4 separate regions of the Homo sapiens genome follow, and all the other regions are linked to region 3. Evidence: promoter capture Hi-C in 16 types of primary human blood cells and fetal thymus (Javierre and others, 2016). All regions are on one chromosome and are shown on one strand. The core of a region is centred on a gene start or on the middle of the fragment in contact, and the rest is flanking DNA. Distances in the headings are between cores, read along the strand shown.

The links. Contacts are between HindIII fragments. The CHiCAGO score rates a contact against its expected background, and 5 or more counts as called.
Region 1: a contact is called between the fragment with the promoter of FAXC here and the fragment with the promoter of CCNC in region 3, in 9 of 17 cell types (megakaryocytes, M2 macrophages, naive B cells and 6 more). The highest score is 6.5, in megakaryocytes.
Region 2: a contact is called between the fragment with the promoter of COQ3 here and the fragment with the promoter of CCNC in region 3, in 11 of 17 cell types (total B cells, naive CD8 T cells, activated CD4 T cells and 8 more). The highest score is 12.6, in total B cells.
Region 4: a contact is called between a fragment that was not itself captured here and the fragment with the promoter of CCNC in region 3, in 1 of 17 cell types (monocytes). The highest score is 6.5, in monocytes.

The regions. Positions count from the first base shown.
Region 1 is chr6:99,344,829-99,352,548 of GRCh38, forward strand. It overlaps FAXC (failed axon connections homolog, metaxin like GST domain containing), which reads right to left and starts at 4,846. Exons shown (of 6, transcript NM_032511.4): 1 at 4,279-4,846. The coding sequence starts at 4,544. RefSeq lists enhancers at 1,228-1,728, 1,729-2,229, 3,120-3,684 and silencers at 4,876-4,935, 5,006-5,055, 5,116-5,195. The HindIII fragment of the contact is 2,521 bases long and covers 3,090-5,610 here.
Region 2 is chr6:99,388,301-99,395,590 of GRCh38, forward strand. It overlaps COQ3 (coenzyme Q3, methyltransferase), which reads right to left and starts at 5,895. Exons shown (of 7, transcript NM_017421.4): 1 at 5,774-5,895. The coding sequence starts at 5,879. RefSeq lists an enhancer at 5,151-5,790. The HindIII fragment of the contact is 4,880 bases long and covers 5,380-7,290 here.
Region 3 is chr6:99,566,677-99,573,954 of GRCh38, forward strand. CCNC (cyclin C) reads right to left here and starts at 1,984. Exons shown (of 12, transcript NM_005190.4): 1 at 1,820-1,984. The coding sequence starts at 1,851. It also overlaps the pseudogene TSTD3. RefSeq lists enhancers at 1,682-1,761, 1,882-2,171, 2,292-2,341. The HindIII fragment of the contact is 11,578 bases long and covers 781-7,278 here.
Region 4 is chr6:99,746,322-99,753,714 of GRCh38, forward strand. No RefSeq gene overlaps it. Among named protein-coding and RNA genes, the nearest start is that of PRDM13, 140 kb to the left of the region's middle. The HindIII fragment of the contact is 1,643 bases long and covers 2,278-3,920 here.

The sequences.
Region 1 (7,720 bases), core at 3,596-6,095, 220 kb before region 3:
ACAAACAAAAAATCCCTGCTCCATCAGCCAGAACGATCTAATTCTAATTGTTAATTTGGGCCATGTCATGGTAAGAATGGAGGCTAATTATCTACCAAGCATATGCTAATGACTTTATATATATTATATATGTTAACTTATTTAATTCTGACAATGACACTTTAGAATGGGTACTGTTACAGTTTAAATTTGGGATATCATATTATACTATTTTATAGTAGATAAGAAAATTGAAGCTCAAAGACGTTAAATAACTTGCCTAAGGAACATCAATTTAAGATTGACTCTGAAATAACTCGTTTCCATGCTCTTAAGCACTTCAAGGTCACCAAAATGGGCAATTCCTCGGTTAATCGTATTAAAACTGCCAGTTTGACTTAGACCACTGAAGCCTGAAACTTTCTGATAAAAGTCACAGCTAATGATGGCCAAGTTTTATTGAATTTTCACCTTGACAAACTCTGTTCTAAGCATGTCACGTGTTATCTCATTTAATCAATGCTATGAGAAAAGCTACTACTACTATTACCATTTTACAGATGAGAAAACTGAGTCATCAAGAGCTTACTGTCATATCCAAGGTTATGTGGTTGGTTACAGACAGAGTCTGAATTTGAACGCAGACAGTCTGGCACCAGAGCCCTCCCTCCAACATGTCAGAAACTCCTCTCTAATTTAGGATCAGAGGTTTGGGTAGGTTGTTCCCTGTACAGCTATATTTTATAAAGTGATCTTACCATAAGGTTTATATAAGAGGACAGCCATAGAGCATTAACTAGCTAGTTTACTACTATTCCCGGGGCTAACGATACCACAGATGAACATGCCTCTGTATACAGCTGATGATTTGTTAGTTTGCAGAGATCAGATGTTGATTCGCCAACTAAATGCTCTAGAAGAGGCTGAGCCCGTGTGTCAAAAGTGCAAATAAGCACTGGTAATGAAGTTAGTACTTAGTCATTCAATTTACAAACAAAAATTTCCAAAGCCTGATTGAATTTAAGATAGCTGCCAAGCTATCTCCACTCAGGGAAAACAAAGTAGTGTGTTGGAACAATATTTATTTTAAAATATGGTGCTAAAAAACATGGATAAAACCCCAAAAACCTACTTCAGTTATATTCATTAATTAAACTTCCTAAGTAATTCTCACCTGTCAACTTTACTCTTCCACTCTAGAGACACAGTCATAGATTAAGGTTATGTCTATGCAGCAGAAAATCCAAGTAGGCTGGGGAAGAGTTTGCAATAGCCAGAAACTCAGGGTAGTCATTTTAAGGTGTATTTTCTATCTTACATATTTCAGATTTTGTTTTGTTTTCTGCCTAAATTATAAAGACTATTGAAACCTAGATTTCACCTTAAGTGGAGGTAGTTATCATGTAACCTCTAAAGCCTTGGTCTTTGACCTTCCTGCCTGGTTTTTTTCCCTTTGCCCCTCCACTCCTCTTCCCCTAGACGCTGCAAGAAAGGCACCTGATACAGGTCTGTCTTCCCTGAGCAATGCTTCAGTTCTCCACATTTCTCTTCCTTCCTCTTCCTCCAACAAAACGGATTTCAAAGTAGGTACTTTTTTTGAGACGGAGTCTCGCTCTGTCGCCAGGCTGGAGTGCAGTGGCACCATCTCGGCTCACTGCAACCTCCGCCTCCTGGGTTCAAGCGATTCTCCTGCCTCAGCTCCCCGAGTAGCTATAGGACTACAGGCGCGTGCCACCACGCCAGGCTAATTTTTGTGGGGTTTTTTTGTTTGTTTTTTAGTAGACGGGGTTTCACAATGTTGGCCAGATGGTCTCGATCTCTTGACCTCGTGATCCGCCCGCGTCAGCCTCCCAAAGTGCTGGGATTACAGGCGTAAGCTGCCGCGCGCCGGGCCAAAGTAGGTACTTTCTAAGAGGCAGTGGTTAAAAACTGCAGGCTCTGATTTGAATCTAGATCCTACTACTCTTACTGTGTGATCTTGGGCAAGCTGCTTAACCTCCCTGAGCTGCAATTTCCTTATCTATGAAATGAACAAACAACAGTTGTGAGGAATAAATGCAGTCACACATGCAAAGCCCATCCTACTAAGTATTCAGAAATAGCCCTTTTTTATTGTTTGCATTACTTCAGAGCTTTCTAATTCAACTCAAACATTTGTCCAGAAACAAAACTGGCCAAGTATGGTGGCTCACACCTATAAACCCAACACTTTGGGAGGCCAAGGAGGGAGGATTTCTTGAGGCCAGGAGTTTGAGACAAGCCTGGGCAACATAGTGAGACCCCATCTCCACAAAAAAGTTAAAAAAAAAATTAGCCAAGTGCAATGGTTCATGCCTGTAATCCCAGCAACTCAGCAGACTGAGGCCAGAGGATCGCTTGATCCCAGGAGTTCAAGAGCAGCCTGGCCAACACGGTGAAACCCTATCTCTACTAAAAATACAAAAATTATCCAGACGCGGTGGTGCACGCCTGTAATCCCAGCTACTCAGGAGGCTGAGCCAGGAGAATCATTTGAACCAGGGAGGTGGAGGTTGCAATGAGCTGAGATCGAGCCACTGCACTCCAACATGGGCGACAAAGCGAGACTCAGTCTCAAAAGAAAAAAAAAAAAAAAGGAAGAAAAAGTGTGAATCAACCTAGGATTAAACTCCTTAGTCCAAATAAGCATCCAGTGCTGAGGTATATAGTCCCCTAAATGAGTTAGTAGCTATCTGTGGGCAGAGAGCTCTCCAGTCTCCAGTGACAACACCTGCCAGGGCAGGGCCTACTCCGGAGTGGCAGCTGAGCTCCACACTGTTTCTGCAAGGTCATTTAAGCTTTGTTTTAAACTTGGTCCTGTGAAGCCTTCACTCCCTCCACTGCTGAGAAGCCTCATGGTTTGGGATCTCCTCAAAGGCTTTAGACTAGAATACAACTGAGAAACAACTGGGTTACCATTTAAATTACTGCCCAAATGTTTTAGTTCTTTAGGTAGCTTGAAATCTAACTTGAAATACAGTTCTAAAACTAGCACAATTAACAAATAATCTAGAGAGATAATTCTCTTTAAATTTTTTTGTTTGGTTCAGCTAGATTCAAGGCAATGTGTTGAGAGAATTAAATGTGCAACAAGCTTAAAATAAACTTCCTCAAATATGGCTAAATAATATGAAAACCAATACATTTCTCCAAACCTAAATGATTTCCCACCCTTTCAGAGATGGGAACTATTCAAAATATGTACGTTAGGCCAAATGCCTACATTAGGCCATCACAATAATCTCCTGGGATCCCTGCAGGCTAGTACAGGTCACCTATCACTGTCTTTGTTTATAACCTATTGTGTAGGATTCCTCCACTGGAATAAGGCAGTGTGGACACATTTCTCTCACTTTAGAAAATACTGGCAAAGAGACATTCTGAGCTATTGAAAACTGGGCTTCTGGTAATCTTCCAGTGACGGAAGGCTCAAATGCATGGAAATTTTAACCATTAATTGATGTATCAATTAGCCAAACGACTGTCTCAGTGCCCTGTGGTATTACTCTACCCAAACAAAAATCTCGTCCCGGCTGGATGTACCAACAGCAGGGGCCTCCATTTTCTGGTATTTCCAACTCAATCTTGTAAACATTCTGCGGCAGCGGATGCAACTGTTTACGGCACTGGGCGACTCCGTGTTGTGCCCAACACACCCATGTGCTAGCCTGTCCTACTGCTCACACAACAATGACATCTAAGCCTGAAGATGGTGCTTGGCGTTCAATACCAGATAAGCAGAGAACCAGGTTAAGGCTGCATCAAAGCTGCCCACCACTACACTTGGTCATGCATCTTTAACAGGGACCCGCAGGTTTCTGGAGCTTTTGCAATTTTTCAGTCTTTTGATGTTGACATTTAGGGAAGAACTAACCTTTAGGTAAAAGATAAGGTTAGCAGTTAATATTCCAGCATTATTACTTATAAACAAGGCATTTCATAAAAGTGTAACCTATTTCTGCAGGGCCCAATTCTATTGTTGCAAACACACTGCACTTAGATCCTCCTAAGGCCATTTCTTAATAGATAACGACAAGTGACCCAGAGCATTTTGGGAGACAAATGTTTTTCCCTCCCAGCACCGGTTTAATTCTCCTTTCAACTCTAAACTGCCCCTCACGGCCAGGTGACCACAAATGCCTTTAGGGAAAGGTAATTGCAGGGCGCTTGGGCATCTGGGCAGCTTGACCGAGGGGCTGGCACGGGCCCCTCTCGCGCCAGCCCTGCCCTAGCCAGGTGCCCCTCTCTGCGCCCCTGTGCGGGGCCCTCTCTCCGGCTCACCTAATGACCAGGAGTTCGTGGAGCAGATACGCAGCTGCGGCCAGCAAAGCTCCCCCGGTCAAGTAAAGGGTTTTCTTCCACCAGGGATCGGAGCCCAGCCCTGCCATGATCCCACCGTAATCCTGCAAAGGGAAAGCGATGATGTCCCCATAAAAGGAGAAGGGCTCCTCGGACCCGGCCCACCAGCCGAAGAAGGAGATGCTCTGGTTCCAGCTCAGATCCACCACGCACGGCCTGGACGAAGCAAAGCCAACCCCCCAGTGCATGCTGCGCGGCTGGCTCCGGGCGCCCCTCCCAGGGCCCGCGCCGCCCGCATGGGAAGGGGCCGGCGCGGCCCGGCGCGGGCTCAGAGGCGCGCGGAGGGCGCGGGCGGCGCGGGCGGCGGCGACTGAGGAGGCGGCGGCGACTGAGGAGGCGGCGGCAGAGGAGGAGGAGGAGGAAGGGCACTGGCCGCGGACGGCGGGCCTGGCCGGCGGGGCCCCAGAGCCCTGGGCGGCAGCAGCGGCCGCCGGCTCCCCCCGCAGCTGCCTCTCCGCCCCGCTCTTTGTGTCGGCGCCTGGAGAAGGCCGCGTGATGTCATTGCTCCCCGGGGCAGGGAAACAGAGGCGGGATAAAGTCACCTACCCCGCGCCCTGCCCCCTCCCCGCATCTCCGCGGTCCGGCCGCCTCCGCCGGGGCCGGATCTGCAGGGCTGAGGCGCGCCGGGCAGGCTCCGCGCCTCCGGGCGGCACGCCCAAAAACCGCTCGCCGCGCGCGGGCAAGGGCGGCGGAGGTGCCTGGAAATGCGGCCCCACCGCGAGGAAGCTGCAGTCGGGGCCCGGATCCCGGTCCTCCCCTACCCCGGCCGGCCCTCCGCCTGCGCTCCAGCCCCTCCCGCGGGCCCCAGAGTAGGGAACGCGCAGGACTCACCTGGGGCGGCGCGGAGCTGCGGGCAGGAGACGCCACCAGGCGGGGGCTGGGAGCGTGGGCCAGGATTAAAGTCGGGAATCAGATTGTTCTGGCCATCAGGAAAGCGCTGCGTATTTGCATAATGTATAAAAACACTCTTATTACATTACACAATTACCTCGGGCTTGACCAGGTGTTCGCAGAGACGAGATGTCTGGTTTGGCAAATAACAAAATACTCTACCTAGAGAGATTTCTCTGACAAACCCAGTTCAAGTCTTTCCTCTTTGAAGTCACTATCAGGGAACTCGCTGATACAGGGTTTCGGTTGGGGGACGGGGGTCCCTCTTTTGTTTTAGAAAATCTGTCTAACAACTGTGTGTGTGTTCAGTGTATTTTTTTCCTTTAACTTCATTTATTAAAGTTCATAAGTACAAAGAATAGAAGCTTGTAATATATGCACAGATTTTAACAAGAGCATGGATAGTTTTAAATTGTTTGGAAGAACTGAAAAAGGATTCGGGCCGTGGAGGTTCATCACTCTCAAGGTGGAAGGATGGGTAAAAGAAACCTCCAGGCTCTTGCCTATGGAGCAGAGATTGAGGCGCAAAAGGACTCCCCCTTTTTTTCCTCTCCTGACACACCCGCCCCTTAGAACAGGCAAGGAGTGTGGTCGTCTTGTTAATAAATAATAAATATGGACGTGTCGCCTCAACGAGACGGGGGGAGGGGCTAGTCAGCTGATGCCTAGGCACCAGCATGTGAGACTCCCCAAACACTCCTGGGAAAATGTGACCTCCCAGGAAGAAGTAATGTGTGTGGTTCTAAGTGAGGCTCCCATAAGTAGGTTGCAAGGAGTGAAACCCAACGGCCTCCTGGGGTGACTGAGGTGGTCACCAGCCGGTCTTTCAAGGAGAGAGGCCAGAAGGCTGCCTGGCCTTGTCGGCAAGAAGCAGAGTAGTTAAGTCTGGGACCAAAGCTGCAGTGCTCTGGAAGAGGGAACAAGGAGGGCTGGCACCAGGGATTCTCCATGCTCCTTCTGTGCCCTTCCCACAGAGCACTCAGTCTTTGCTCTCAGTGAACACTGAGCCAATATTTAAAGAATATAAGTTTGATATTTGGGATCACATTATTTGCATATCTAGGTCTAGACATGGGGATGGGCATAAATTACCTTAAGTGGAAGAATATGGAAGGCAAAAGGGAGAGTCAATCCTGACAAACCTTATGCCCAAAACAAGTTAGAACCCAGAGGAAGTGTAGTATTTTTATCCCAGAAAGCCACTGACTACAATTCACTCTCACTCATAGTGACCTGCCCCACCCACTCATGCAGGCCAGGGGCCCACTGCTGCTTCCTGGTAGTGTCAGACAACTGTTGAGCATCATCTGGTCTCTGGTTCAAATATGGTTTACATTTTTAGAGACACTGCAGTGAACATCTTTAAGAAGCAGATGTGGGCTGGGCACAGGTGGCTCACACATGTAATCCCAACACTTTGGGAGGCCAAGGTGGGTGGATCACCTAAGGTCACGAGTTCGAGATCAGCCTGGCCAACATGGCGAAACCCCGTCTCTACTGAAAATACAAAAAATTAGCCGGGAGTGGTGACGAGCACCTGTAATTCCAGCTACTCGGAAGGCTAAGGCAGGAGAATTGCTTGAACCCAGGAGGCGGAGGTCTCAGTGAGGAGAGATTGTGCCATTGCACCCCAGCCTGGGTAACAAGAGCGAGACACCGTCTCAATAAAAATAAAAATAAAAATAAAATAAAATTCCACAAGAGAAACTAAAATGTCATCTTAATCTGATGCATCTTAAATTTTAACTTTTAGATCCATGGCATAGAAGAGAAAAGATGATTATTGTTAGGGCTGTATAAGATGAAAAGAGGAAGAGTAGACTGAGGAGACAACAAATCTGAGTTGGACAAATATTTGGTATCAGAATGTCAGAACAGGCCGGGCATGGTGGGGTGGCTCATGCCTGTAATCCCAGCACTTTGGGAGGTGGGCAGATCACTTGAGGTCAAGAGTTTGAGACCAGCCTGGCCAACATGGTGAAACTGTGTCTCTACTAAAAAAAAAATACAAAAATTAGCTAGGCATGGTGTCGAGCACCTGTAACCCCAGCTACCTGGGAGTCTGAGGCAGGAGAATCACTTGAACCTGGGAAGCAGAGGTCGCAGTGAGCTGAGATCGCGCCACTGCACTCTAGCCTGGGTGACAGAGTGAGACTCCATCTGAAATAAAAAAGAAGAACCTCAGAACAAACCTTTGGGGAGCAAGGAAAGCAGCTCTAGCTGTAAAGGCACCGACTGATGCAATCCTCAGCCAAATCTTCATCCAAAGACAGACTGAGTTTCAGAGGGAAAAGCTGCTCCACAAAGGGGTGCAAGCCAGCTGTAGAAAGATGGGAGACTCAGGCTCAGGGGCAAGGGACTCAGCCCCAGAGGAGTGGTGGTGGTGGGATAAACTCAGTAGAAAGGAACCAAACACAGCTTGGTTAACAAGAGTTGCTAAGGAGGCTGATTCTGCAAAGAATGGCTCCTCAGA
Region 2 (7,290 bases), core at 4,645-7,144, 170 kb before region 3:
TTTTAAATCATTTCAAAAAAATTCATTGTTGCATAAATCAAACAAAAACATGTACAGAATCTATATGCTTAAAATTACACAACACTGATGAAAGAAATCAAAGAATAAACGTGAGACATATTGGAAAATTCAACATAGTAAAAAGATCAGTTCTCCCCAAATTGTCCTACACATTTAATACAATTCCTATCAAAATCTCAATAGCCTTTTTTTTTTGATAGACACAGACATGCTGATTTTAAAATTTATATGGAAAGGCAAAATAGGCCTGGCGCGGTGGCTTATGCCTGTAATCCCAGCACTTTGGGAGATTGAGGCAGGTGGATCACTTGAAGTCAGGAGGTTGAGACTAGTCTGGCCAACATGGTGAAACTCCGTCTCTACTAAAAATAAAAAAATTAGCCAGGTGTGGTGGTGGGAACCTGTAATACGAGCTACTCAGGAGGCTGAGGCAGGAGAATTGTTTGAACCCAGGAGGCAGAGGTTGCAGTGAGCCAAGATCGCACCATTACACTCCAGTATGGGTGACAAGAGCGAAACTCCATCTCAAAAACTAAATAAGTAAATAAATAAAACACTAATGTATACACGCACACACACACACACACACACACACACACACACACACACACACCCACATCCTCACTCTCTCCCACAATGAGTGCATGTACAGTTGGCAAAAACCAAATAAGGTCTGTAGTGGAGTCAATTATCATACTAAAGTTGATTTCCTGGCTTCAACAATGTACTATGGATGGTATCACCAAGGAACTGGGTGAATAGTACATGGAAATTCTCTCTGTGTGTTTGGGGTTTTTGTTTTGTTTTGTTTTTGGGGGGAATAGGGTCTCTCACTCTGTCGCCCAAATTGGACTGCAGAGGCATGATCTCAGCTCACTGCAATCTCTGCCTCCCAGTTTCAAGTGATTATCCAGCTCAGCCTCCCAAGTAACTGGGACTACAGGTGCACACGCCACCATGCCCGGCTAACTTTTTGTATTTTTAGTAGAGACAGGCTTTCGCCATGTTGACCCGCCTGATCTCAAACTCCTGACCTCAAGTGATCTGCCCGCCTCAGCCTCCCAAAGTGTTGGGAATACAGACGTGAGCCACCGCACCCAGCCTCTCTGTGCTATTTTTGCCACTTCTTGTGTCTTAAATTATTTCAAAATAAAAAATTTAAAAAATCAAAAAGTACAAAAGGGTACAGTACAAAGTATCTCTCCCAGCCCTGACTGTAGCTATCTAGTTTCTCTCCCTATAAACAACCAATCCTACTAGATTTGTATGTAAGATTCCAGAGGCATTTTATACATATGCAATCATTTTAAAGTATCAGTTTCTCTCATTTTATATAAAATGTAGCACAATACACTCATTCTGAATGTTTCTCTTCACCTACCAACATATCTTGGAAATTATTTCATATTTTTTAAAAGGCTGTGTGATAATTCATTGTATGGCTATATTATTTATTTAAGCAGTTCCCTAATAATGAGCATTTGGGTAATTATCAAAACTATGAGATTAGGGCCGGGTGTGGTGGCTCATGCCTATAATCCCAGCGGTTTGGGAGGCTGAGGTGGGCGGATCACTTGAGGTCAGGAGTTTGAGACCAGGCTGGCCAACATGGCATTAGCCCGTCTCTACTAAAAATACAAAAATTAGCCAGGCGTGGTGGGGTGCGCCTGTAGTCCCAGTTACTTGGGAGGCTGGGGCACAAGAATCACTTGAACCCGGGAGGTGGAGATTGCAGTGGGCAAGATCACGCCACCGCACTCCAGCCTGGGCGAAAGAGTGAGACTCCGTCTCAAAACGACAACAACTAGAGATTAAATTACATAGGTTATTTCATTTCATATGTGTTTCAGAGTCCCTGTAGGTAAAATCTCAAGAATGATGTCAAAGGGTACGTGCATTTGTAAATCTGTAATTGCCACTAAATAGATGTTGAACCAATTTACTATCCTATCGGTAATCTATGAGAGTGTCTCTTGTTGGTTTTCCCACACTGTCACCCATACAATGTTAAACTTTTTTTTTTTTTTTTTGAGACGGAGTCTTGCTCTGTCGCCCAGGCTGGAGTGCAGTGGCGAGATCTCAGCTCACTACAAGTTCTGCCTCCCGGGTTCACGCCATTCTCCTGCCTCAGCCTCCCGAGTAGCTGGGACTACAGGTGCCCGCCACCACGCCTGGCTAATTTTTTGGATTTTTAGTAGAGACGGGTTTCACCGTGTTAGCCAGGATGGTCTTGATCTCCTGACCTCATGATCCACCCGCCTCGGCCTCCCAAAGTGCTGGGACTACAGGCGTGAGCCACGCGCCCAGTCTTTGTTAAACATTTTTATGTTTGCTAATCAAATACATGAAAATGGTATCTTAGTGTAGTTTTAATTGTTTGTTTTTGTTTTTGAGACAGGGTCTCACTGTGTCACCCGGGCTGGACTGCAGTGGAACAATCTCCACTCACTACAACCTCCACCAAGGTCACCCAAGCGATCCTCCCACCTCAGCCCCTCGAGTAGCTGGCACTATAAACATGGGCCCCGTGCCCAGTTAATGTAGTTTCAATTTATCATGAATGAGGTTAAGCATCCTTTCTTATGTTTAGTGGTCATTTATATTTCACATCTTGTCTTTTTGTAGTCTCTGCATACTTTTCTCCTGAGCTTATGTTTATTTGGTTTTATTTTTTAATCAGCCCTTCACAGTCCATCCCAAACCCATTACAATGTTCTTTTTTAATAAAGTTCATGTGTCTAGGCTTTTGCTCATTTTATTTATTTATTTATTTATTTATTTATTTATTTATTTATGAGACAGGGTCTCGTTGTGTTGCCCAGGCTGGAGTGCAGTGGTGGGTTCACGGCTCACTGTAGCCTCTACCTCCTGGGCTCAAGTAATCCTCCTACCTTAGCCTATCCAGTAGCGAGGTCCACAGAAGCACACCACCATGCCTGGCTAAATTTTGTATTTTTTTTTTTGTAGAGACAGGGTTTTGCTATGTTGCCCAGGCTGGTTTCAAACTCCTGAGCTCAAGCGATCCACCTGCCTCGACCTCCCAAAGTGCCGGGATTAAAGGTGCTCGGCCAGGCTTTTGTTCATTTTATTTCCCTTTCCACCAACTCTATCTGGACTACCTTTTAAGACCCAGTTCAAATATCACCTCCTGTATGACTTTAGGTAGATACATGAGATATTATTAAAGAATAAAGTTTAACTATGTAAACCATGATACATCGATAACGACATATAAGGTATTACTATTATGAAACTAAGCCTTAGAAATTTTAACAATATCTGCTTTTACGGACAGACAACCCTTGATCTCTCTCTTACCTCCTCTATTTCTGGAAAATGAATCCCTAAGTCATCAGTATTGCTACAATTCTCAAGAGGTTTAAAAATCATCTTAGGCCAGACGCAGTGGCTCAATGCCTGTAATCCCATCACTTTGGGAGACCAAGGTGGGCGGCCTGCTTGAGCCCAGGAGTTCAAGACCAGCCTGGACAATGTGGTGAAACCCCTTCTCTACTAAAAATATAAAAATTAGCCATGCATTGTGGTGCCTGCCTGTAGTCCCAGCTACTTGGGAGGCTGAGGTGGGAGGACCAATTGAGCCAGGGAGGCCAAGGCTGCCGTGAACTGTGGTCATGCCACTGCACTCTAACCTGGGATACAGAGCAAGACCTTTTCTCAAAAAAAAAAATTAATTAATCTAAAAAGTAAAAATAAAAACCACTCTACCACCTTACCACAACGGAAAGAGAGTAATTGAGTTTGTATTTAAACAGAATGCTACCAATTCCTTCTCTACCTTGAATCTGTGATCATCCTGGTATTTGAAATTTTAAAGGAATGGGAAAAGGTTTTTTTCATTTTATTTATTGAAAAGTCATTTATTCAGCACCTACCAGGCACCATGCTGATGGTGAATAAAACAGGTGACAGACTTTTACCCTACCAATACTTTATTTCCAGCAATGATAATTTACTGTCTGGATTGCTCTAAGGTCTTCCTGGGCCTAGACTTGCCTGACTCCATCCCACATTCTATGTAGACAGCTGCCAAGTGTTATTTCTTAAACATAAATCTGTTCATGTTGCTTCTTCAGTGATTTCCACTGTCCGCGGGATAGTCTACCTCAGGAGGTGTAAATGGCCTTTCATGAATGTGTCATGGCCAAAAAGGCCTCTTCCTCATCCCTTGCCACCCCCTGCCTTTACCTTCTGCCCTCCACCTACACACTTTACTTTTCAAGGAACCTTGCAGTTTCTCACAAACTTTCTCACAGATTCTCGAGCTGGTCCTTTCCCCTCTCCAACTGCTTTTTTTTTTTTTTGAGACAGAGTCTCACTCTGTTGCTCAGGCTGGAGTGCAATGGTGTGATCTTGGCTTACTGCAACCTCTGCCTCCCAGGTTCAAGCGATTCTCCTGCCTCAGCCTCCCGAGTAGCTGGGATTACAGGCGCCTGCCGCCACGCCCAGCTAATTTTGTATTTTTAGTAGATAGGGTTTCACCATGTTGGCCAGGCTGGTCTCGAACACTTGACCTCAAGTGAGCTGCCTGTCTCGACCAACTGCTTCTAAAACTGGCCACCTCCTTCAAGATTTCTCTAAATATCCCATTCAAGAAGTTTCCTTGATCCCAAATATGGATTAAATGCTCCTTCTATGTTCACCCCTCAAAAATTGGAACTAGGTTTATTATATCTTTTCTAAATTTTTGATTATAAAAGACACATGTTTACTAAAAAAAGTTCAGAAAAAGAAAAGTATATAAAGGATAAAATGATAGAAAATCACCTACTCTACCACAGGCAATCACTGCAAAATTTCTCTATATATCTCCACCTGTAACTCCAAGTTCACTATACATACTGATTTGTAACTTTTTTTTTTTTTTGGCTCCTTCCAGGAAACAATGAAACTTTACTTTCTTAACACTATATCTTACTACTTTTCCATGTGGGTACAAATAGATTTAAATCATTTTTATTGGCTGTACTATTTTTCACTGTATGATAGTACCAACTAATAACCTTTATTAATGGGCGGTTAGATTCCCCATTTTTTTGTTCATTATATCCTGATCTTAGGTTTATCCTAACATTTTTAAAGAGATCCTTGCGGTGTCATTCATTTTTAAATTCCCAGTGCTCATACCAGTGTCTGGCATACAGTATTTGTTAAGAGTTCCATGTGAAAGATGAGCTTAAGTTTCTACTTAATACTGAGAGTTCGAAAATCAGACTGCTGTCTACAAGCACTGAGCAGTGCATTATTTTCTTGATCTCATTTGCAAATGCAGTCTGTTGGATTAACCTATTAATCAAAAAGTAATACAGCTGCCTTAAATTCTTTCTGAAAAAAACAGCAAGCTTTGTGCAAACAAAACACAGATACAAAGCTATGCATAACTACGAGGCGTGAGTTATTCCTGCCCCGGCAAAGGAAAGATGCATGACCTTCAGACTGCAGCACACGCAGAGCGGGTCGCCGGCTCCTGGGGCAAGGAGCTCAGCCACAAGAGACCCGCGGCCTGCGCTTTTCCAGACAGGACCACTGGTCCTGAGCTCTTTTCCCCGGCGTCCGCCAACGGGACTATGCGAGGTTTACAATGGAGAGAGATGGGGCCAGGACCAAGCCTTAGGTTTCGCGCTGACCCCTCGCGAGGTCCAGAGACAACCCACCGCCCCACCCCCGGCGCATGCGCAGAGACGCCAGCGCTCGCAATTGACTGCATGCGAAGGACCTCCGCACACACACTCACCCGCCGAGGAAATTAAGGGACGCGCAGCTTTTGTATTACAGCCTCCAGGCCCCAGCACTCTTAAAAACCAACCCCCGGAGGAGCCCAGCTTACGGCCACTCCACATCGCGACAAACGATCCCACCTCTTTTCCGGTCCCTCCCGAAAAAAGATCCCCAACATAAAGGTTCCGAGATCACTTTCGCCGTCTGCAGCCGACTTTTTTTTTTTTTTTTTTTTTTAGCAGAGTCTGTTCTGTTGCCCAGGCTGGAGTACAGTCCCCATCTCGGATTCTGGGATCACTGCAATCTCCGCCGCCCGGGTTCAAGCGATTCTCCATGTTGGCTGGTCTCGAACTCCTGACCTCAGGTTATCCGCCCGCCTTGGCCTCCCAAAGGGCTGGGATTACAGGCGTGAGCCACCGCGCCCGGCCTGCAGCCGACTTTCATGATTGTATTGTTGAGTGTTATGTATGTATGGCTATACTTTCACGCTCATTTAGCAAATTGCACATGGAATTAAACTGCAAGATGTTTTTACTATCATAAACAACTTTGAAGATACTTTATTGCTATAGGACACCTCAAACCTCATGTTCGAAGTTGACCTCAATCAGGCCATTACTTCGTGCTGTGTCTTCTTTTATTGCCATGTAGCTCTATTTCACACTTAACAGATGTCTCTTCAAGGACTTTTATATTCCTGTAAGACATTGACCCTACTGCTAAGAATGCAAGAGTATGGGAGCACTTCTTCCTCAAGGGAAGAATTGTTTCCCCTTTCAAGGCACTCAAATATCAGATGGCCAGAAGGCCAAATGTAAAACTTATTTTCTGCAAATGACTATTATCTTGTACAGGGTATATACATCATGTAGTAGGAGGCTTCTGTGGCTCAGTCTAGGCAAACTTCATTTAGAGCTAGGAACAGTGATCAGTAACATTTTACGTCTAAATGCACAAAGTCTTTCTTTGGGTAAGAACAATGACGAATCTCCAACATTGAAGACAAAAAATTATTCTGTATTTTCAACAGGTAGGGTCAAATTGGTAAAGGGTTCTTTCAGTTAGCGAAATTTACCGCTCAGGAATCTTTTTTTTTCTTTTTTTTTTGAGACAGCCTCACTCGGTTGCTCAGGCTGGAGTGCAGTGGTAGGATCTCAGCTCATTGCAACCTCCGTCCCCCAGGCTCGGGTGATTCTTCGTGCCTCAGCCTCGTAAGTAGCTGGGATTACAGGTGTATGCTGCCATTCCCGGCTTAATTTTTGTATTTTCAGTCAGGGTTTCACCATGTTGGCCAGGCTGGTCTCAAGCTCCTGACCTCAGGTGATCTGCCTGCCTCAGCCTCCCAAAGTGCTGGGATTACAGGTGGGAGCCACCTCACCCAGACAGCAATAGTCTTTCATTCATGGTTCTTAGCTAAAATATTGACCTCCTCCTAAGGGTGGTCGCACTTTTCAGTTGCTATGTCCTCTTCAGAGCTCCTCTACCCTTAGATACATGATCCTCTCTCCACATGAAGGCAGAAAGCTCTGCACA
Region 3 (7,278 bases), core at 734-3,233:
GAGTTTTCCTCACAGAACTCTGTATGGAGAATAAACTAAAAAACTTTATAAATACTGCATTTCATCAAATTTAAGATTACATCTAGGATTCATCATTATTTCATATGCTATGAAAGCAACTGCCATGCTGATTTCAAAGATGTTAAAGTGTGAAAACGTGCATCTTAGAAGCATGAAATATAGCATATTTAATATCAATTGCCCTCTTTCACCAAATTCACCTAAGACAATGGCCTTTCATAATCTTTTCGTTTGTTTTTCCAGAATTGTCTTGTCTTCCACACTCGTTACCTTTTCCAGATAAGAAACTCCATGACTGCTCAAGGGATTTGAGCAAGGCAAAGTGGTCCCTTCTTTTAGGACTATTTGAATTGGGAGAAAAGAATAGTTTCAAAGAAGTACACTTAACTTTATAATAATTTTATATTTGAAAAGTGAAAACATATTTTTAGAATGCTATGAATAAATGAAAGCATAATGAGAACACTATTGAAAATAAGGCAGGATCTTTTTTTTTTAAGTTGAAAAACTGAAAAATCAACAGTCAGCTACTTGTCAATTCTCTCAGCTTCTTTCAGAGTTTATCAGAATATCTCTTCTCCACTACCTAAACTTTTTTTTTCAGGAGCTCTAACTCCAATACCTAAACTTTCGATACTTTAATTTTGCCCAAGCAATATTTCAGTGTGTGAAAACAATGCAACATATATACACACACATATATATATACATACACACACACACATATATATACACACACACACATATGATCAGTGGTAAAGCTTCTTTAACATGTCATCTCCACAGAATCACTTTATAGCAAGAGGAAAACCTGCTTTTCCTTAAATAGGTTACTGAGTTCATTGTTTCTTTTTTTCTCTTTGCAAAGGGCTAAAAAATGAACATCAGGAACAGATCCTATTCACAGAATCGAAATTTAAATTACTTACTAATGCTTTCTTAGCATAAAAAATTATACCAAGATACCTTGTCAAATTCTGTTCATCTTTCAACTATACAGTGGAAAGCCTACTCAAATGTTCAATTTACCCCATAACGCACCTTCCTGCCTGCTTAAACAAATGTATTTAGGGATAAATGTTTTTAATATTATTCTAGCTCTCACATGGTCACTGACAGAAACAAGAACTTATTCATGAAAAAGGTTAAAGAAACAGGTAAACAAAGTCACTGGAAAAATAGGCCTTTAAAACAAAATATAAAGCACAGGCTAATGAAATGGATAAATTTAGAGGGCACCTGCCCTATACCTTATCAATATAAAACTCCATCTAGACATAAAGTACGCGCAAGAAGCGGTTAGTAGGCAGAAACAAGCCAGACTCTCTCCTCTCCTCATAATATTAAATCCACTCAAGATATACAGTGAATGACAAAAGACCACGACGCCGATCACCCGAAGAAACCCCAGGTAAAAGCACGCCACAACTGTCCTGAACAGGTAGCCTCACAGTCTTGAGCTGAGTCACACTTCCCGTACCTGTGCCCACTCTATCCGACCCCCCGCGGCCTAGCTAAACCAAGAATCCGAAATTAAACTCCGAAACGTTCCTTCCCGGGAGACGAAACTCTCTCCCACCCCTCCCCCTCACAGATCCTTCCCTCCCCGAAACTGGGGCTGGGGGCGGGGAGGGGAGTCGCCTCAGAAAAGCGCATCTTGATTCTGACCGCTGCGGTCTCCCGTGAGGACCCCGGCACTCGGAACTGAGCTGGGATCCAGGCCCAGGGGAGTCACAGGCCCCGTCCTCACAGCTCCCCCAAAAACCGGCCCCAGGTGAGAAGACGGAAGATCGCTTACTAGTGGGAGCTCTGCCAAAAGTTCCCTGCCATGGAACACAGCTTGCCCTGATAAAAAAGCACCAGCCGGCGGAGCGGCCCGCGGAGCGACCATAGACCCAGCCCGTCCGGTAACCGCGCTCCTCGATCAAATCAGCTCGGCTCGACTCCGCTCCGCGGCGGCGACGGCGAAAGGAAGAGGATGGCCCCCTAGTCTCCTTCACGCCGGCCGACAACACTCAACTGTGCAAACCCGTTCCTATCGACAAAAGTTCCGGCCCGCGGTAGCGGAGGGAGCCGGAGGGGAGGTGCTGACCCTTGGAGGTGCTGAGATTGAAGAGAACTAGTGTTCACGAGAGCTCGCGGCGGTTGGAAGGCTCTCGCGAGAGCGTCTTGAGAATTCTGGCCGGGGGCCCAAGCCGCTCGGTCTCCTGTCTTCAGCACGGGAGTTGCTGAGTGGGTCTAACCTAGGCGAAGTGGCTCAGATACGGGGTTCTGTTATTACCTCTTCCAGGACTTCAAAAACAGAACAATGTGGCATTGTAATAAAGTACAAGGTTTTGTGACTTATTTTTCCTGTGATTGGAAAGAGAAATAAATGAAGATGACTTTGTTCTCAGGGATCAAGTGTTCCTTTTTTTTTTTTACTTTATTTATTTATTTATTTTGAGACGGAGTCTTGCTCTGTCTCCAGGCTGGAGTGCAGTGGCACGATCCCGGCTCACTGCAAGCTCCGCCTCCAGGAGTTCAAGCGATTCTCCTGCCTCAGCCTCCCGAGTAGCTGGGACTGCAGGCGCGCACCACCATGCCCAGCTAATTTTTGTATTTTTAGTAGAGATAGGGTTTCACCATGTTGGCCAGGATAGTCTCAAACTCCTGACCTCGTGATCCGCCCTCCTCAACCTCCCAAAGTGCTGGGATTACAGGCGTAAGCCACCGCACCCTGCCTGTTTTTTACTTTTGAGACGGAGTCTGGGTCTGTCACCCAGGATGGAATGCAGTGGCACAATCTCGGCTCACAGCAACCTCTGCCTTTCCAGTTCAAATGATTCTGCTGCCTCAGCCTCCCAGGTAGCTGGGATTACAGGGATTACAGGCGCGTGCCACCACGTCCATCTAATCTTTGTATTTTTAGTGGAGAGGGGATTTCGCTAGGCTGGTCTGGAACTCCTAACCTCAGGTGATCCGTCAGCCTCAGCCTCCCAAAATGCTGGGATTAACAGGCGTGGGCTACCAGGCCCGGCCTGGATCAGGCGGTTTTTTTTTTTTTTTTTTTTTGAGACGGAGTCTTGCTCTGTCGCCCAGGTTGGAGTGCAGTGGCGCTATCTAGGCTCATTGCAACCTCTGCCTCCCAGGTTCAAGCGATTCTCCTGCCTCAGCCTCCCAAGTAGCTGGGACTACAGGCTCACACCACCACGCCCAGCTAATTTTTGTATTTTTAGTAGAGACAGGGTTTCACCATGTTGGCCAGGATGGTCTCCATTTCCTGACCTCGTGATCCGCCCACCTCGGCCTCCCAAAGTGCTGGGATTACAGGCGTGAGCAACCGCGCCCGGCCGCGATCTTTTTTTTTTTTTTTTTTGAGACGGAGTCTCGCTCTGTCGCCCAGGCTGGAGTGCAGTGGCGAGATCTCGGCCGCGATCTTAATGGAGTTATTTTGGAGTGATAAAGTGCAAACTTACAGAGCAGCGGAATCAACAGTTTTGCAGAACATCTAAAAATATTCATGCATATATGTATGCACATGTATGTACATGTATGCACCTAATAGAAACATACTGCAAAAAAAGCCATAATTTAATTTTACAAGACGAAATATTTTGTATTTTCCATTTCATTTTCATTGTAGCAATGCATTTATTGTAAAACTTATAATTATTTTTCTAAATAATTGGACACTCCAGAAACTTGTTTATAGACAGTCAGCATCTGAGGCAACTTAAGACAGTATTTTTCACATTGTAGGTGGAGACCAATTAGGGTGTGGTAAAATTAAGTATAATCATTTTCCTAAATAGAACAGAAAATACTAGGTAAATCAGAAATAGCAAGGATATTATATTTAAATTTGGTTCAGTTATATATGTGTGTATATACATACACAAACACACATATACACACACAGTCAAGATGTGAAATGCATTTGTTTGTATGTGAGAATTAGTCTGCATCAGGTGTGGTGGCTCACGCCTGTAATCCCAGCACTTTGGGATGCCGAAATGGGCGGATCACTTGAGGTCAGGAGTTTGAGACCAGCCTAGCCAACATGGTGAAACCCTGTCTCTACTAAAAATACAAAAATTAGCGGAGTGTGGTGGCGTGCACCCGTAGTCCCAGCTACTCGGGAGGCTGCAGCACAAGAATCGCTTGAACCCAGGAGGCAGAGGTTGCGGTGGGCAGAGATTGTGCCACTGCACTCCAGCCTGGACAACAGAGTGAGACTCCAAATCCAAAAAGAAAAAGAAAAAAGAATGAATTAGTCTGGATAAGCTACACTAGGTGAAATTGTGGTAACACCTCCCCACCCCCACCCCTAATCAGCATAGCTTAACATCAAAGTATTTTACATGTCATACGTCACTCCCATAAAGTCCCATAAAGTCGGCTTGCTCTCCTTGGTGGTTGTCTTCCAGATTTTCAAGAATGTAATATTTATATATCCTTCAATTACTCCATCTTGATGGTCTTTACTTCTAGGTTTAAAATCTTTCTAGAGAGAGCACAGAGGACTCATACTAACTCTTACCCAGGGTTAAGAGCCTTGAAACAGAAACAACCCAATCACTTTCTCTCATGGGCCATTGACCAGAATAGACACATGCCTCCAATTTTTAACTGTGAAGAAAGCTGAGGCCAGGCACGGTGGCTCACGCCTGTACTCCCAGCACTTTGGGAGGCCAAGACAGGCAGATCACGAGGTCAGGAGATCAGACCATCATGGCCAGCATGGTGAAACCCCGTCTCCACTAAAATACAAAAATTAGCCGGGCATGGTGGCGCATGCGTGTGATCCTAGCTACTTGGGAGGCTCAGGCAGGAGAATCGCTTGAACCTGGGAGGCGGAGGTTGCAGTGAGCCAAGATCGCGCCACTGCACTCCAGCCTGGGTGTCGGAGTGAGACTCTGTCTCAAAAAAAAAAAAAAAAGAAAGAAAGCTGAGAAATGTAAACGAGTGTGTAGTATACTTCATGAACACTACTGTCTGTTACACTACAGATCACAATAGAAAATATTGGCAGGGCGCGGTGGCTCAGGCCTGTAATCCCAGCACTTTGGGAGGCTGAGGTGGGCGGATCACGAGGTCAAGAGCTCGAGACCATCCTGGCTAACACGGTGAAACCCCGTCTCCACTAAAAACACAAAAAATTAGCCGGGCGTGGTGGCAGGCGCCTGTAGTCCCAGCTACTCGGGAGGCTGAGGCAGGAGAATGGCATGAACCCAGGAGGCGGAGCTTGCAGTGAGCTGAGATCGAGCCACTGCACTCCAGCCTGGGCGACAGAGTGAGACTCCATCTCAAAAAAAAAAAAAATAAATAAAAATATATATATATTTATCTTTATATTTATATTTAAAAGGCACTACCTTAAGAAACTCCAGGCCATGGGCTAGTTCACAGATTCAGGATTTCTTCAACTCTCTCAGGGTTTGTTTTGTTTTTGTGAAACTGGCATCATCCAGAAGATAAGGATACTGCAACGAATTAGTATTACTAATGTTTTATTCTAAGCGATCCTATTATACTTTGTTGCTATTACTGGACTAGCACTTTTTTTTTTTTTTTTTTTTTTTGAGGCAGAGTCTTGCTCTGTCACCCAGGTTGGAGTGCAATGGCTTCAGGCGATTCTCCTGCCTTAGCCTCCCAAGTAGCTGGGATTACAGGTGCCTGCCACCATGCCCAGATAATTTTTTTTTTTTTTTTTTTTTTTTGGATTTTTAGTAGAGATGGGGTTTCACCATGTTGGTCAGGCTGGTCACAAACTCCTGACCTCAGTTAATCCACCCACCTCAGCCTCCCAAAGTGCTGGGATTATAGGCATGAGCCACCGTGCCCCGCAATTTTGTTTTATACCTAATTCTGCACTCTTCTTCCTACAAAACAGTGAGATCCTTCATCTTTGTATAAATCTCTTATAGAATTTGGGGGATGTGCTTTGATATAACATTACGGATACAAAATTATGTTGAAAAGTGAGTACTACATTTAGAATGCAAAAAGAGCCACAACAACTTACTAGAGCTGTGGAAATTCAGGTCCTTTCCTTCTGTGAACTCTTTTAGGCAATTTACCACAAGTGCTACATAGAACCTCTTCCTGTTTGTGACCTGGTTTCTGCTTCCACCAAATGCCCAGCAGCTCCCAGTGCTCATGGGGGCTGTGCAAGTGACAGGCCTGGAGCTTAGGCTTCCTTAGTTTCAGAGTAAATTGCTTTTGAGGTCATTCTATAAATGTAGGTTGAATTAAATTGACTTGAACCAAAAGCTAACTTCATTTAAGGATATCTCTAGTGGAATAGATAAATTTACAAAAGCTGTTAAAATACATAGATATCCCAGCTTACCTGGATGCAAAAAGATCATGAGCTATCTAGCAGATTTGCCTTTTTTCGCTGATGATTTTTTAAACTTTTCTTTATAATTTTAGGAGTATTGTTTTTCAGACCTCACTACCCACTAATTTAAACTTGATGAAATAAATTAATGTTGTCCCTTCCAATTTTCAACTTACCTTGTGCTTTTCAAATGGGATGAGTTCAATAAATTCTTTTTAAAAAATTTTTTATTTTTCATTTTTGTGGATACATAGTAGGTGTGTATATTTATGGGGGTACATGAGCTATTTTGATACAGGCATGCAATGAGTAATAATCACATCAGGGTAAATGGGTATCCATCATCTCAAGCATTTATCCTTTGTGTTACAAACAATCCAATTATACTCTTTTAGTATTTTAAAATGTTAATAAATTCTTGATGCTAGTGTTCAATCTCCTGTGACAAGAAAGCATTTATCCTTTTTCTTCTTACAGTGCTTTCTCCAGCAGCATGAATACTATTTCTGGTAAACTAGGAGCTAGAAGGTTAGTGGCTTTATCAAGCTCACTTAGTTAAATAGCGGCAAGAATACCTGGAATCCGATTCTTCTGATTCACAGTGCAATAACTTTTTTATCCAACTAGACAGCTTCAACAGAACTACTATGATGAAACCGCTATAAGCACATTATTCCAAGTTTGTAGTACAAGTTTTTCTTCTCAAACACAATTATTGGAGATAATCCTCTCATTTTTAATTAAATTATTATCATAATTACTTTGCTTTGTTATTAATAGTCCTTATTGTGAAAAACATCCTCTTCTTTATGTAGTCATCCCCTGTACCTCCCTTTATTTTTGTTCTGGTATACCTGTATTTGTTGAAGATGAATACACGTCTAAATTATGGAAAAGTGTCTTTGTTTTGTGCTATAAGAGAATAGCACAGA
Region 4 (7,393 bases), core at 1,849-4,348, 180 kb after region 3:
TCCCAAGGTGCTAGAATTATAGGCGTGAGCCACCGTGCCCAGCCACAATCTATTTTTGATGATAACAAGGAGTCCAGTTGTGTAATGTTCTTAGTCTGGTATCAAATTTGAAGACATGACTTGTAAACATTTGGCTACTCGACCCACACTGCCATCTAGTGAAATTTGTGTAAATTACAGCCAGCTGTAGCACAAGTACTTTAGCGTTGGGGAGTTTAGGGCTAGGCAATTCATGTATGATGCAAATGAATACACTTTCTGAATAGATGTCCTTTCACAGTGATTAGTCTCACTGTCAGGGGACCACGGCTATTACATTACAACGTTGCTTTGTAAGTATTTAGAATTTATTTGTTGGCTTTTTTCCCCCTTACATATTTTGTATCTGTCTGTTTGTCCATCCTAGTGGAGTTAGTTATAATTTGTTCAGAACATTATGAATAAGAACCCTAAGTACTTTCTAAAAATTTTACCTTTAATAAGTATGAGTTTTCATTGAAGTCAAAGACATTTTGTGAATAATTCTTTAAATACTTTTTGTTAATTTAAAGGGAAAAAAGGAAAAAAAACCCTCATATTAGGACATTTTTGAGAGAATACATACTAGATTTTAAAAAAATTGAAGCATATGAATTAATATTAGCATTTACATATTGTATAAGAAACATATACGTTTTAATAAAATTTACTATACTCTTACAATATTAGTATCAATCTGAAAATCTTCTAATATATGTTAGTAGTAAGTTGAATAAGATATTGAAATATTACAGATCCATAAGCTTAATATTATCTTGTGGTTCATGAGTAAAAACAATTATAGTTATTATTTAAGCTTTGTGAAAATATTCATGTGTATGGTTACATAGTCATATTTACGTATACATAATTATCTTATTACTGTCAAAGTATATGTAATGAAATCACAAATGTACTTCATTACTCTTACATAATTGCAGGTTCAGATATATAGTAACAAAAGTATTTAAGTTTTATAGATAATAAAGTATAATACAATCTTTTTCATAAGACATTTAGACCTAATAGAGATTGCTTTAATGATAGCTTATATTAAGATCTTCAGGTGTGGTGGCTCAAACCTGTAGTCCCAAAACTTTGGGAGGCCGAGGCCAGGGGATCACTTGAGCCAAGACCAGCCTGGGAAAAATAGTGAAACCTCATCTCTACAAAAGATACAGAAATTAGCCGGGTGTGGTGGTGCATGCCTTTAGTTCCAGCTACTAAGGAGGCTGAGGTGGGAGGATCGCTTGAGCCTGGGAGGCCAAGGTTGCAGGGAGTGGTGATGGTACCATTGCACTCCATTCAACCTTGGGCGACAGAATGAGACTTTGTCTCAGAAAAAAAAAATCTGGCTGTGATTAGGTTAACATCAAAAAAGTTCTGGACAAGAAAAAAGGGGTAAAGAGTCTTAACAGGGGTAATGGGATGAATGGTTCTCACTTCTTTATTTCCTTAAAATAGCTGAAATCCCAGGAATTGTATTGTTTTTTCTGATTTTAAAAGGATCACACACTGATGACTTTGTTTTGCTCCCTAGGTTTCCTGACACCTTGAAGATCACTTGGCACATTGTATGTGCTAAATAAATATTAGCTGATGAACCCGGGAGGCGGAGGTTGCAGTGAGCTGAGATCGCGCCACTGCACTCCAGCCAGGGCGACAGAGTGAGACTCCATCTCAAAAATAAATAAATAAATAAATGGATAAATAGTAAAAATATTTAGCTGAATGCATAAACGAATCATAAATGTTCAATATAGAGTGACTCCCTACTTTAATACTGTAGAGATAATCACTGTTAACAATTTGCTGTATATTTCTCTAAATTTTTAAATGCATACGTTAACCTGTATATTATCTTAGAAAAAAAGACTACATTCTATATACTTTTGCAACATTGTCTTTCGCTTAGCAATATCTATGCCAGTAGTAATATCTATATTTACCTCACTTATTGGACATATAGTATTTAATTATATGAAGATGAATAAGTCATCACATATCTAGTCAGCCTTCCTCTGGGATATTTGGTTTACTTCTGGTGTTTTTTATCTCCAAATATAAGCTATGGTGTAACAAACATCTGAGTAAATGTATTTCCATGTACAAAAATCTGTGTGTACAGTTGACCCTTGAACAATGTGGGAGTTAGGAATGCTGATCATCGTCCCCAACCCCGGGTCCCTATGCAGTAGAAAATTCATGTATACCTTTTGACTTCCCAAAAACTTAACTAATGGCCTACTGTTGACTGGAAGCTTTGCTGATAACAGAAACTGTCATTAACACATATTTTGCATGTTGTAGGTATCATCTACTGTACTCTCACAATAAACTAGTGAAAAGAAAATATTAAGAAAATCATAGAGATGAGAAAATATGTTTACTATTCATTAAGTGGAAGTGGATCAGCATAAAGGTCTTCATCCTTATTTTCTTCATGTTGAGTAGGCTGAGGAGGAAGAGAAGGAGGAGAAAGAACTGTTGGTCTTGCTGTCTTGTGGTGGCAGAGGTAGAAGAAAATTCCAGTATAGGTTGACTTGTGCAGTTCAAACCTGAGTTGTTCAAGGGTCAACCGTGTATATGTGTGTTTGTGTGTGTGTGTGTGTATAGATATATGAATATATATGCTATTGTTCAACTAGAGGACATATTCATGAAAGTGGAATTGCTGAGTCAAAGGGAATGTCCATTAAAATTGCTAAATATTGCTAAACTTCCCTCCGAAAGTATGTTAACAGTACAGGAATCCCTTTCCTCCAACACTTTTGTCAAAAGCAAATATAAATTTATCTTAATTGACATAGAAATGAATGGAATGATTATGATTATGATTATGATGAATGACATTTCTAATCTGAATATTCTGTGTTAAGAAAAAAATATCTGATGAGAAGGTGCTTAGCCTACTTTATAGGGATTTATGAAAATAATTTTTCCATGGTGGACTAGCTTTTAAATTTATACTGTGATTAAAGTTCCTTATTATCAAAGTTTTTGGTTGTTCAAGTTTAAACTAATGTAAGTTTGAAAACTCCAAATTATAAAATAATTTGTGGGGCTCACGTTGTTTCAAAGATTACAGTAATTTATTTTGCACATCACTTTTGAAAACCTAAACCTCTCAGTATAAACATAATAACTTTGTAAATAATGTTTAGTTGATCCTTAAGTAGACTATGTAATTTCATGGAGAAAAGTTTTGCATTTTATGAAAATAGAGTAATCATTAAGTAGAAAGGCATCAGTCTCACTTTGCAACCTTATTAAATATCAGTTACGACAGGAACACTTATACTTATTTCTGCTGCTAATTTTTCTAAACATTGGACAAATATATTAAATTGTAAGAAAAAAGGACAGATAAAGTAAGACTTTTTTGGTGTGCTTATTTTCTTGGCCTTGCAGTTTGGTGAGAAGGCGACTGGAATATTTGCATGTTGTATTGCATAATGAGACCAACACAAAATGATTGCAGCTCATGTAAAAGACAGGGTGGCATGTTTTCAGTTTTAATGGGGACACTCAGAAAAGTTCCAATTCTTCCTGACATTTCTTATAGCCAAATAAACGTGGTCTAGGTTGGAGTGTCTATTATGAAAATAAGAGGAGAGCAAGTCAATTATATTTCAATGACTGAATAGCCAGGGGTCCTCATTAAAATGATCAGAAAGATTGCAGTGTTGCTCTCCTCTGTGTAGCCACTGATTAAGTTGTATAAGAATGACATGGCCTTTTGGGGAGCAAGCCAGAGGATGTCTTAGTATCTGGAGCCAGAAATTGTTGACCCTTTTGAGAGAGAAATGTGTGCTACCTTAAAACAGAAAAATATTTTTTCTCTTATTGGATGATGAACTTTGGAATTAGGTATATGAAATTAGTTACGGCTATTGTATAGAAGCTTTAATTTGTGCTATGCTGTAAGAAAAATGCCCTTGAATAAGATAATGATGAAGATACATCTCTTTACATTTATCTCAGTCAGTTAGATCTATTTCACTAGAGTAACGTCTACAATGCAAGTGAATGAGTGTGTTTAAGAAATAGTTTACAAATTCACTACTATTCTTTTCCTTTTAAAATTTCTACTTATCTGTTTGTGTGTATGTGTGTTGGGGGAGGAGATAAAAGTCTTCTGAGGAAAATTATCATTGTTCTTCCTTTTGGACTCACATGCAAAGAGACAATACAGTTTAATATTGTTTTATATAGCAATACAGCTTAAGAAGATCAAACCCATTGCTTAAGAGAACAGCTTGACTTTCATATTTTTTTAACAGGTGAAAATAAAAGCGCCAGATTCTGCAAGGTCTCTGTAGTCAAGATTCCTATGCAACCAAACTCCTCAGTAGGCATCTCGTACATGTTAAGATCGGAAGGCCCGAGAGCCTTCAGTAAGTGGAACTTTTAATACTATATATATATATTTTTTAATGAGAAAAGGCTTACAAAATTTACAACTAGGCTCAAGCTCATTTTATAAAGCAACTGAGTTTTTAGTTTTCTCATAGCAATGAAATGAACTATGATTTTGTTTTCTGACATTGTCTATCTTTTTTCAACCCATCAGTTGTATAAATTGTATTTTAATTGATTACCTATGATTTGCCTAACATTTTAAGAGGAAGATGTCAACATTATAACCATAAACAGCACTAAGACCAAAATATATCAACCTCAGTTGATGTGTTTCAAATAAGTAAAACAAAATTCCATTTAATAGTCACATTAGTTAAAATAATTATTCCAAGATTTCTTTTTGTGCATGTGGTTATACAAACTCTTCTTTTCTCTCTTTCTTTTTTCTAGCTTGACTCTTTAACCCAGTAAAAATACTAAAACCCATTTATTAATCTAGTTGTGGAACAAAAAGGAGAACTGTAGCCAAATTTTATTCTCAATCAGGCTTCATAACATCATTTATAATTAAAATTACCTAATATAAATGTTCTATATTTAATATTATGTTATGAATATCATCATTCCTTATGATGGAGTTGGGGTGGGCAGTTACACATTTCAAGTGATTTAAATGTTTTTAGATTGATTTTCCTGATACTAGTCAATGAAAGTGCAAGTCAGGAATCTTTAATGTTGTAGTGTTATAATTTCACCTTTACTAAATAACCACACTGCAGAGTTGACTGCACTATCAAGCAGGTTTCAAAATAACAGTTTGAGAAAAACAGGGTTATCATGATGCCTTTTTTTTTTCCCCCGGTGGCTATTCTGACATGCAATTCACTGTGAAAGAAAGAATATAATGGGTTGCCGCCTGGATTAAAGGAACCCAATTATGTGCCTCTCAAATACACCACAGAGTTTAGCAGTGCCCAGATTTTATAATAGTATCATTCTGCCCTGTAGTTTTCATCTAATTTATGAAAAATAAATTAGATGAAAATTTGCAAAATGTGTATCCTTTCTGTATTCAAAGGGAATAAAATGTCTATATAAAGCATTAAAGTAGGTTTTCATTTTTATATCTACGTTAAACAGGATCTCGCATGGTATGCAACATCATGTGAGTAAAGGTAAGAGACATGATTTAGTGTTAGACCAGTGCCAGTGTTCACTAGGAAATGTGAGAACTGCCTGGAGAACATATGGGAGAGAGAGATTAGGGAAGTATGTAGCTCCATCACAAAACAACAGCATTTCAGGGGGATAAAATAATACGATGCAGTAACTGTGAATGCATGCATGTTTAGACATTGTAAATATTGTTATGTTGCATTGGTGATGGTTTGTAATCATTGCTGTCTTGTTTACTGCTCCTTTGAGTCATTTTTCCCTTTCAAGCCTACTGTTAGGGATTCTAGTACTCAAAAGTGTGCTGTGGACATCAAAAGGTTGAGAGGCATTGCTCCATGCTATAATTCATTTTCAAGAATAAAAACCAGTTTGAGGGAGAAGGGTTCTTTCATAATGATATAATCAAATAAGTTTTGGAAACAAATAAGTTAAATAGATTTCTGAATTGTGGGATTTCTTAAAGTTTTAAATTTTCTAATGAGCATTTTTATTCTGGGTAAGACATTTAGATTTTCTGAAACATATTTAGCCTTGGATTCCTTTTCTTTTTCTTTTTTCTTTTTTAAGGAACAAGTAGTTTTTGGTATGCAGTTTGGGAGGCTGAAGTGGGCGGGTCAGGAGTTCGAGGCCAGCTTGACCAACATGGTGAAACCCCATCTCTACTAAAAATACAAAAACTAGCTGGGCGTGGTGGTGTGCACCTATAAGCCCAGCTACTCAGGAGGCTGAGGCAGGAGAATCACTTGAACCCAGGAGGTGGAGGCTGCAGTGAGCTGAGATCACACCACTGCATTCCAGCCTGGGCGACAGAGCGAGACTCTGTCTAAAAAAAAAAAAAAAAAGTATCATTAAGTTTATTATCTCAAGTATTTTCAAGTATTTTTAACTGTGTTATTCAGTAGCGTGAAGTATATTTACATAGTTGGAAAGCAGATCTCCAGGACTTTTTCATGTTGCAGAACTGAAGCTCTATACCCATTAAAAATCACTCCTCATTCCCTTCTTCCCAGCTTCTGGTGCCTGGGAAGATTTTTAAACAATACATATCCCAGAGCTTCTCACCTCCAGAGATTCTGATTTAAGTTTTCTGAGGATAAATGTTTTTAAAGATCTTCAGGTAATTCTACTGTACAGCTGGATTTGAGAATGGTTGAATATCACGCTTTTTGTGTGTTTATTTGATTTAATCAAACACACTTATTAAGAGCTGGGGGCTGGGGCTAGAGCAATATATGAGCTACAATCCTTGCTGTCTGGGAACACAGTCCACAGAGGGGACAGACTAGAAGGCAATCAGTATACCTGGTGAGAACTGCCATGGTGGAGCAGTGAATTGGGACCCCAGGTAGCAATGAGGAGGGAGTGACTATCCAGAACAATTTCTCACTGAGCTAATGTTTTGAATAGCCTGGTACTGAATACTGGCAGAGCCTAGAGATGGAATTTAATATACCAGAGCCACTGTACAATTTTAATTCTGAGATGAAGGAAGACTATATTTACAAATAGACTGTATTTACAAATATACTTTGGACACATGTTTTTGACACTAAGTGTTAGACACTCATGGCATTTTCTACTCCTGATACTTTTGTAGGCTTTCTATATATGTGGTTGTTCACTTCTTTCTCAAATTTAAAAACACTTAAATTTTTTATTATTCTTAACGAATTATTCCAACATATACCAATAAGTTCAATTCCATGCTAAGAAATAAACTATGGATATGATTACTAAGTTGAATGAAAACTTACTTGTCTTTGATACAGTTTCTTGAGTTATATAGGTGTTGAAATTGGAAAAAAGGAAGTACTATTCTAACTTAATCTAAAATTTT